Regions from separate parts of the Homo sapiens genome. Here all the other regions are linked to region 1. Evidence: promoter capture Hi-C in 16 types of primary human blood cells and fetal thymus (Javierre and others, 2016). All regions are on one chromosome and are shown on one strand. The core of a region is centred on a gene start or on the middle of the fragment in contact, and the rest is flanking DNA. Distances in the headings are between cores, read along the strand shown.

Region 1 (2,943 bases), core at 27-2,526:
TGGGGTTACAGGCATGAGCCACTGCACCCAGCTGAATATTGAAGAATGTTTTGAATGTTGAAGAACCTGAGGCAGTGCAACAGAAACATTAGCCTGGTCTAGCGTCTGGCTCTAGGTCTAGCCCTAGATGAACCCCAAATCTTTTTCTCCCTGCTATAAGCTTTCATTTCCCTCTTTACTGTCCCTTAAACAATGACATGAGACATCCAAGCCAGAGGAACATCCCATCTTTACCGACAGTGACGGGGCCAGAAAGAGGCCCCGACCTTCCTCATCCCCTCATAGTCAGACCTACCCAGCCTCCCTGGACCAATCACTGGGACCCCTGCCCTGGACAGTGGAATCGGCTCCAGGTCTGCCTGAGGGCCTCCTTGACCTCCTTATTGCGGAGGCTGTAGATGAGTGGGTTGAGAGACGGGATGACCAGGGTATAGAACACAGAGGCCATCTTGTCAGTGTCCAGGGCATAGCTGGAGCTGGGGCGCAGGTACATGAAAATGAGTGTCCCGTACATCATGGCCACGGCTGTGAGGTGGGAACCACCGGTGGAGGCTGCTCGCCGACTGCCCTCGACCGAGCGCATGTGGATCACAGCCCCAGCGATGAAGCCATAAGACACCGTGATAGCTAACACCGTGGCTGTCTGGATGAAGCCACAGATGGCGAAGAGAAGGAGTTCATTGAGACTGGTGTCACTGCACGAGATGGCCAGCAGTGGAGGGATATCGCAGAAGAAGCTATTGATCTTCCGGGAGCGGCAGAAGCTCAGGCGGAAGGTGAGGGTTGTGTGAACAAAGGCACTCACTGCCCCACCCAGGCCTGATGCTCCCAGCAAGGCCAGGCATAGACGCTGCGACATAGCTGTTGTATAGAGAAGTGGGTTTCTGATGGCCACGTAGCGGTCATAGGCCATGGCTGCCAGCAAGCAACACTCAGTATCAGCCAGACCTGCAAAGACAAACATCTGGAGGGCACAGGCTGTGTAAGGGATGGTGGCTCGGGGCAGCAGCAGGTCCACTAGCATCTTGGGGCCGATGGCGGAGGAATAGCAGGCATCCAGCAGGGAGAGGTTGGCCAGGAAGAAGTACATAGGTGTGTGGAGCCGGGCATCCATGCGGATCAGCAGCGCCATGCCCATGTTTCCCAGCAGGCTCACCAGGTAGACAGGCAGGCAGGTCAGGAAGAGGGCCACACGCAGGTCCCAGCGATTTGTGATGCCCAGGAGGACGAATTCAGCAGGGGCAACCGCGGCCCGGGTGAGGTTCTCTGAGTTCATCCTACTGGACAGAGACTGAGAAGAGGCAAAGCAGGAGGGAGATAAGAGCAATGGCAAGGCCATGGCCAGGGAGAAGAAAGCATCCTGTACTGGGAGTTAGGTAGGCTTGGGTTTCAGCTCACCTGTGCAACAAAATTGCTGTGACCTTGAGCAAGCCACGTAACCTCTCAAAACCTGTTTCTAACTCTTAGAAGTCATTGCAGAAGCCTTTTTTTGTTTTTGAGATGGAGTTTTGCTCTTGTTACCCAGGCTGGCGTGCAAAGGTGTGATCTCAGCTCACCACAACCTCCGCCTTCTGGGTTCAAGCGATTCTCCTGCCTCAGCCTCCCAAGTAGCTGGGATTATAGGCATGTGCCACCGTGCCTGGCTAATTTTATATTTTTAGTAGAGATGGAGTTTCTCCATGTTGGTCAGGCTGGTCTCGAACTCCCAACTTCAGGTGATCCGCCCACCTCAGCCTCCTGAAGTGCTGGGATTACAGGCATGAGCCACTGTACCCGGCCCGTCTTTTTTTCTTTTTTCTTTTCTTTTCTTTTCTTTTTTTTGAGATGGAGTCTTGTTTTGTTGCCCAGGCTGGCGTGCAGTGGTGCAATCTTGGGTCACTGCAACCTCCGCCTCCTGGGTTCAAGTGACTCTCCTACCTCAGCCTCCCGAGTAGCTGGGACTACAGGTGCCCGCCACCATGCCCGGCTAATTTTTGTATTTTTTAAGTAGAGGTAGGGTTTCACCATGTTGGTGGTCAGGCTGGTCTTCAACTCCTGATCTCAAGTCTGCCTGCCCCAGCTTCCCAAAGTGTTGGGATTACAGGTGTGAGCCACCACGCCCAGCCTTTTTTTTTTTTTTTTTAAAGAGACACAAGGTCTCACTATGTTGCCCAGGCTGAACTAAAATTCTTGGGCTTAAGTGATCCTCCTCCCACCTCAGCCTCCCAAGCAGCTGGGATTATAGGCATGCTCCACCACACCCACAGGGGTCTTGTCCCTCTTATTCACTTTTGTGTCTACAGCACTGAGAGCATTGCCTAGCACATAGCTGGTGCTCAAAAAAGATTTGTTAAATGAATGAATGGGATGATATTTAGTGTCCAGCCAATGATTGAAAACTTTGTGACTCTATATGCATTCTCCTCTCCAGTTTTCCAGGTAAGAAAAGAGACAGTGGAATGAGCAGAAATAATCTTCAGATCCAACGGGCACCTGGCCATGGCTTTTGAGGTTTGCTAGTAGGGACATCTTTCCTTTGGAGTAAGATCGGAGAAAGGAGTAGCCTGGTATCTTGCGAAAACAGTGGGGAGTAGAAAGAACAGAAAATGTGAATATATTCCTGAGCTGAATTCTTGGCCTCTCTGAGCCTCAATGTTCTCATCTGGATAATGGGGGAAAGCTGCAAGGATTCGATGAGATAATGCATGTAAAGCTTCTCACACAGGGCCTAGCACACGCAGGCATTTAACAAAGGCCCTGCGAATGGAAATAAATTGAACTGGATGCTCTGGCTCCAAACTGGAAGGAAGCAACTTTATGGCAATCAAAAGTAGTATAATTCCCAGAAAATGCAATGTTGCTTCACACTCCTGTGCCTTGCATTTGTCCTCTTTGCCTGGAACCCATTTCCTCCTTTTGTGTTTGGTAAAAAGTTTCTCCAGTGTGAAGCCTTCCCTGATCTGT
Region 2 (3,011 bases), core at 295-2,794, 640 kb after region 1:
TTTCCTATCTTAGTTTTGACACCACCATCTGTTGAAACATCAGAGCTAGAAACCTGAATTCTTCATTCCCTACTGATTCCATGCAGTCATCACTTCCTTTAGATTAGCATCTTCTGGAATTTTTTTTTTAATCCTCTCATTGTTCCTGCTGCTGTTATCTTATTCTTGGACAGGAGTTCTTAACCTGGGGTACATGAATTTCTGGGAGAGGAGGGTGGATCAATGTGGGCTTTAGATGAAATTGAAGAATTGAGGATTAAATTACACCTCCACAAGAAGAGTGATCTGTGTGGAAAACAAATCTTATGTCACTGTGTTTTTAAAAACTGTACGGGGACTCTCCATTGCTGGTGAGATAAAGCATCTTCTCCATAACATGGCATGCAGGCCCTTTATGATCTGACCCATCCCTGCTTCTTCAGCCTCAGCTCCCTCTGTTCCCTGTGGAGCAGCACAGGTAGCAAGGCATGGAGGAAAAAACTCAGGTCTTACTCTCTCTCCTAGGCTGGAATGCAGTGGTGCGATCACAGCTCACTGCAGCCTTGACTTCCTGGGCACAGGTGATTCTCCCACCTCAGCCTCCCAAGTAGCTGGGACTACAGGCACAGGCCACCATGCCCAACTAATTTTTGTATTTTAGTAGAGACAGGATTTTGCTATATTACCCAGTCTGGTCTTGAGATCCTGAGCTCAAGCAGTCCTCCCACCTTAGCCTCCCAGTGTGATGGGATTACAGGTCACCATACCCGGTCTAGTTCCCTTCTCTTTGTGTATAGCATCTGTGAATGGTTGGATTATAAGCTTGGTGTCATGAGTAATAACTTAGCAATTTTTTTGTCTTTTATATCTGGCTTGATTATTTTCAGATACTTTTTGATGTACTGAACATATTATTTTAAATAGTTGATAATTCTAGATTGGAAAGTGGTAGAACTTATACATGTAACAAATAAAACTACCTTTTCTCATTTCTGACTTATGAAAGAAGAAATAACAAGTCATGCTAGTAAGAAAGCATATTTATTCTTGAATCTTTGTATTAACATTTTTTAAAACTCTGTGAGATAAAAAAAAAATTCTCTTAACTCTTTTCAAAAGTGTATTTCTCGATCAGGTGCCATGGCTCACACCTGCAATTCTAGCACTTTGGGAGGCTGAGGCAGGAGGATCGCTTGAGCTCACGAGTTCAGGACTAGCCTGGGCAACATTTTTTTTGTTTTTCTTTTTGAAGTGGAGTCTCACTCTGTCACCCAGGCTGGAGTACAGTGCCACGATCTCTGCTCACTGCAACCAGTGCCTTCCGGGTTCAAGCAATTCTGCCTCAGCCTCTTGAGTAGCTGGGATTACAGGCACCCGCCACCATGGCCAGCTAAATTTTGTATTTTTAGTAGAGAAGGGGTTTCACCATGTTGCCTGGGCTGGTCTTGAACTCTGACCTCAAGTGATCCACCTGCCTCAGCCTCCCAGAGTGCGGGGATTACAGGCATGAGCCACTGTGCCCAGCCAATTTCATAAATGTCTTTAATTCCTTAAAGGAGCTGCAAATACCAAGGAACCACTAGTGGATCATTAGGAACCATCTGTACTTATGACAGGGCGGTGGGATAACTTTCAAAAGCAAACAAACGAAACTAGTAGACTTGAAGACTTAGGTTCCAGCTTTAGCTCTGACATTAGTGTGTATCTTATCTTAGGCATGCCAACCTCCCTGGTCTTCATCTGTGCACTAGAGATAATAATGCCTCATAAGGTGGTTATAATAATAATTGGGTGATTGTATACACAAAAGCTCTGTTCCCAATAAAAGGTTTCTGAATTTATACATCTAGGAAGATGAATCTGGTCATTTTACATGAGGTGACTTAAGAGTTCAGCCCAGTAGAAGAATAATCAGAAGACTGCTGACAGCTGTGGCCTTATGTCTTCTTACTTCTCTGGGCCTATTTCTTTATCTTTAAAATGACAGCAGTTTCTGCTGGCTTTCCAGTTGAGATTTTTGTGACCATCAGGGGATACTGTGAGTGTAAATTATCTCTCTCCCTGTTGCAGTTTAGTACTTCACCACTCTCCTGGCTTATTGGCTCAGCTCCCCAATTTGGGTCTTGCCTCTCTCCACTTTAGCTTTCACACTTCCCAGCCTACAGAGATGGGATTTAGTTACTGCCGTGCTTCAGTGGCACCTGTTAACCGTCAGGTTAAAACGCAAACACCTTTGCATATCATTTAATACCCTTTATCATCTGGCCTGTCCACCACTGTAGTGTGGTATTAAGAAGCACAAGCTTTGGAGTAGGCATATCTGGCTTTGTGTACAATTTCTTCCACTATTAGCTAGGTGGCCTCAGTGAGCCCCTGCAGAATGACCTCCTAAGAGTGAAAATGGAATGGAATCATGTGCTCAGCATCATTTCTAGCAATAAGTTCTTGGTGAGATGCTTCATCTCCCTCCATTCTTCATGCAGCCTTTGATTCAGCCATTCTGAAGACATGCCTGCCTATCTTCATATGTAGTCTTTCCTTGGAATGTCTTTTCCTCCCTTGCCTTTCTGACTGGCTCCTGCTCAGACTTTAAGCTAAGTCTTACCTCCTTAAAAATATTCCAGACCCCCAGCCTTCAGGATGGGTTAGATGTGCACAGTCCTTGCTCCTATAGAGGCAGTTCCTGTCTCCATCATTGCCATTAGCCATCAGGGTGATTTGGAAATCTTGGTTGTTATTCCTGGCTTTCTCCCTCACTAGACTGTGATCCCCTTGAGGACAGTATCTTGTTCCCTTCTGTATCCCTAGTTTCTACCACATGGAATGACATAAAGTAGGCTTTCCTGAGTGTTTGTTCAATGATTAAATACGTCTGAATGTGATTTGCTGGGAATTTAAGTCGGGGAGCAGTTGTAGCAGCGGGAGCAATGAGGAGACACCAGGAGGCGCATTGATGGTTACAGATTCCTCCACCCTAGCTTTCAACTTTGCTTTTGCCCTCTTCACCCTTCCCAGGTCACCAAAGTGAAAAC
Region 3 (2,987 bases), core at 32-2,531, 660 kb after region 1:
GGCTGGGGCTAGAACTGTGAAGAGGGTGTCTGGGTAGAGACTGATGGCCTGTCAGTTGGCTGCCAGCACATCCTCAAATTCTTTGTCTCTGTGTGGAGTGGGGACTGTGGAGGGGGCAGGGGTTGGGCACAGCAGAGGAGGAGGATGCCGGGGTGGGGGCAGGAGAGGGGCATGGCGGGTTGCGGGAGGCCTCCGTGGTCTGCTGGTGCTTACGCTTGTCGGCGGTGTGTGTCTTCGGGAAGTCAGGTCCTTGCCCCCTGCTTTGGGGCCAGAGACAGGAGTTCAGATCCTAGCTCTGCTCCCCACTTGCTGGGGGTGGGGGGGTCCCAGGCCTGTATCGTTCCTGTTTCCAGTCCTAGGCCTCTGTTTCTTCATCCATGCAATGGGTCTATCCAGCTCTGACCTGCTGTGATCTCTGTAAATCTGAGCTGATTAGAACATTTGGCCCTGAAATTCCAGAGGCCTTTAGGCTTCCCTGATGGAGGGAGCATGGGGCTGAGTCTTGGTGCTGTCAGGGAGGCACTGAGGGGGCTGGGGGTGGGGTCAGAGAGGTGGGGAAGGTGAACCCTCCCCACTGCAAGGCCTGGCAGTAGGGCAAAACCAGGCTGCTTATCTCCCCAGCCTGGGCACCCTGGATGACTGTGCTGGGGACATGGGGCTGATGGAGGGGTCGCCAGGGAGGAGGCGGAGAAGACAGAGATGTCATCTGTCCTGAAAGACACAGCCCTTCAGGGCTTCCTGCCCTCTCTGCAGTTCTTGCCAGGTCACCTGGGCCCCAAAGACCCCACAGTTCTGTTCACCAGCCCCCTTCAGTCCTTGTCACCTGGCTACTGCTAGGCAGCCACACTCAGCTCCATGATCTCACCAGCAGCCAAGTAGCTGAACACACAGTCACAGCGCCCCCGCCCCCACACACACACATAGGCACAAAGCCTGTGGCACAGTCACACATGGGCTTGTAGAGTTATAGGTGCCCCCGCGTGCACAGCCCTCCTGGGAGCCAGCACGGGAGATCACGCATGCGTGCCCACCCCAGCGTGTGGGTGAGCCCAGGGCTGTGCCCAGCCCAGCTCTTAGAGAACCACTCTGAGGCCTCCCTAGACAGAGTCGCAGGAGCCGTCCTAGAGGGGTGGGGGTGGTGATGGGATGAGAAGCTCTCTGTGGGCCTCTGATCCCCTCCTTTAATAAAAGGAGCTAGAAGGCCCCCTCCTCAGCACCCCACCCCCCAGCCTCAGCACCCAAAGCATCCATTATTCCACCCGATGCCCCCTCTAGTTCTGCGGGGTGAGTGCGCTGAGCACATCTTACAGAGGGCAAACTGAGGCTGGGGAGGAGAAGGGGGGTTGCCCAAGGGCAGAGCTGGTGAGGTCAGAAGCAGAATTGCAAGCCGGGGCGGTGGGCCCCCAAACCTGTGTTCTCTCAGGCCGCCCACCCCCATCTGCCGGGCTGGGGTGTGGACCCCGAAGCGTGCCCCGGGCCCCCTCCACCCCAGCACCCAAGGGCCTCCCGGACACAAAGCCACCTGGCGGCGCTCGAGGGGGCGCGCGTGGGAGCGCGCACGGTGGCCCGCGCCTCCGGCCAAGATGTTCCCTCTCCGCGTGATTGACAGGCTCGAGTGCCGAGAAACAAAATTGTTTATGCGCTAATGAATAAGGCCCTGATTGCAAGATCCTGTTTGGAAAATTATAGTGCGGCGGCGGCGGCGGCGGCCGCGGCGGCCCAATTACAGCCCGCGCTGCATATTCATTTCGTCTCTCCTTTGCATCGAGATGAACGGGCGCCCCGCGCCCTGCAAAGGCAACGCCAAATTTAGTCCCAGGTTCCGCACTCCTCCGCGCCATTGTCTGCCCCGGACCACCTGCCTCCTGCCGGCCTGATTGCCCGGGAGGGCGCGAGCAGGGAGGCCAAGAAAGTTCTCCCTACCCCTCCTCCTGGCAACCCCTTCCCTCGGTTCTCTCCGCTCCCTCCTCCGACTCCCCGTCTCTGTCTCCCTTCCCCTCCCGGTGTCTCTTTCTCCCTCTGTTCTCTCTCTACTTATTCTGTGCCCCGCACTTCCTCTCCTCGCTCTAGGCCTCTATCTGGGTGCATCACCGGTCTAGAATGTCAGTCGCTGTCCCTCCCCCTCCAGCTTCACATTCCCTGCGTTCCTGGGTCCCTGGGTACAGCAGGGGCAGTAACGGGGACCGTCTGCTCCTTGGAGGTCACAGAGGTATGAGGCGGGTCTCAAGACCCCTGCCTTGGCTGTGAGCATGGGGTGGCTTGGCTCGTCCCCGCAACCAAGCTGCTGGGGAGAGAGGCCCCTCCCTGCCCGCTGCCTCTGCCGCCTCCCGCATGCCACCAGATCCACTTATCCTGCGGCTCAGGCCCCTTGGCTGCCCAGGCTGCGCCCTCACACCTCCCTGCCCTGCACATGCTGTTCTCTTGCTGGCACGCCCGTCCTGTCTTCCCAGACGCATCCCAAGTACAGCTCAGAGCAGCCTTCCCCTGTCCCCACCACCGCAGGCAACAGGACAGCTCCCTCCCAGAGCACGCTGGTGTCCAGGCATGTCCTGCAGGTACAGCAGCAGGCAGGGTACACTGGCGTCCTTCTCCCGGGCCTGACCAGCCTGGGGGCTGCCGGTGAGTCACCAGGAAGCTCTGGTGTCCAGCTCAAGGCTGATCAAACGGACACCTCCACTGTGATATGGGGGTATAGTCTCCCTGTCCTTGTTGTATGGTGATGGTGGGCAGGAGGGGAGAGGAGGCTGGGAGGGAGGGACTGGGGCTTTGCAGCACCTGGACGCCACAGACCAGGACTGGCCCTGGTTCCAGACAGTGACAAGGACAACTAACTGGTCCTTGTCACTGGGTCATTGACTTAACTGACAAGTACCTGAGGCCCAGTCTGGCTGGAGGCTCATGGTGGGGGTGATGGTGGCGAGGGCTCTTCAGAGGATGGCCGTGCTCCTCCCCGTCCTGCCTGGGGCCCCACTGAGTAACCAGGCATC

The links. The method cuts DNA at HindIII sites, captures the fragments that hold promoters and counts their contacts. A CHiCAGO score of 5 or more calls a contact.
Region 2: a fragment that was not itself captured here is called in contact with the fragment with the promoter of OR5C1 in region 1 in 1 of 17 cell types (M0 macrophages); the score reaches 7.1 in M0 macrophages.
Region 3: a fragment that was not itself captured here is called in contact with the fragment with the promoter of OR5C1 in region 1 in 4 of 17 cell types (activated CD4 T cells, naive B cells, M0 macrophages and 1 more); the score reaches 6.5 in activated CD4 T cells.

Annotation. Positions count from the first base shown.
Region 1 is chr9:122,787,266-122,790,208 of GRCh38, reverse strand. OR5C1 (olfactory receptor family 5 subfamily C member 1) reads right to left here and starts at 1,276. Exons shown (of 1, transcript NM_001001923.1): 1 at 314-1,276. The coding sequence starts at 1,276. The coding sequence ends at 314. The HindIII fragment of the contact is 2,532 bases long and covers 163-2,694 here.
Region 2 is chr9:122,144,362-122,147,372 of GRCh38, reverse strand. It overlaps NDUFA8 (NADH:ubiquinone oxidoreductase subunit A8), which reads left to right. Exons shown (of 4, transcript NM_014222.3): 4 at 2,995-3,011. Among named protein-coding and RNA genes, the nearest start is that of NDUFA8, 14 kb to the left of the region's middle. The HindIII fragment of the contact is 1,481 bases long and covers 804-2,284 here.
Region 3 is chr9:122,125,578-122,128,564 of GRCh38, reverse strand. No RefSeq gene overlaps it. Among named protein-coding and RNA genes, the nearest start is that of MIR4478, 6.9 kb to the right of the region's middle. RefSeq lists enhancers at 357-1,122, 1,123-1,889, 1,890-2,655, 2,656-2,987. The HindIII fragment of the contact is 5,201 bases long and covers 1-2,987 here.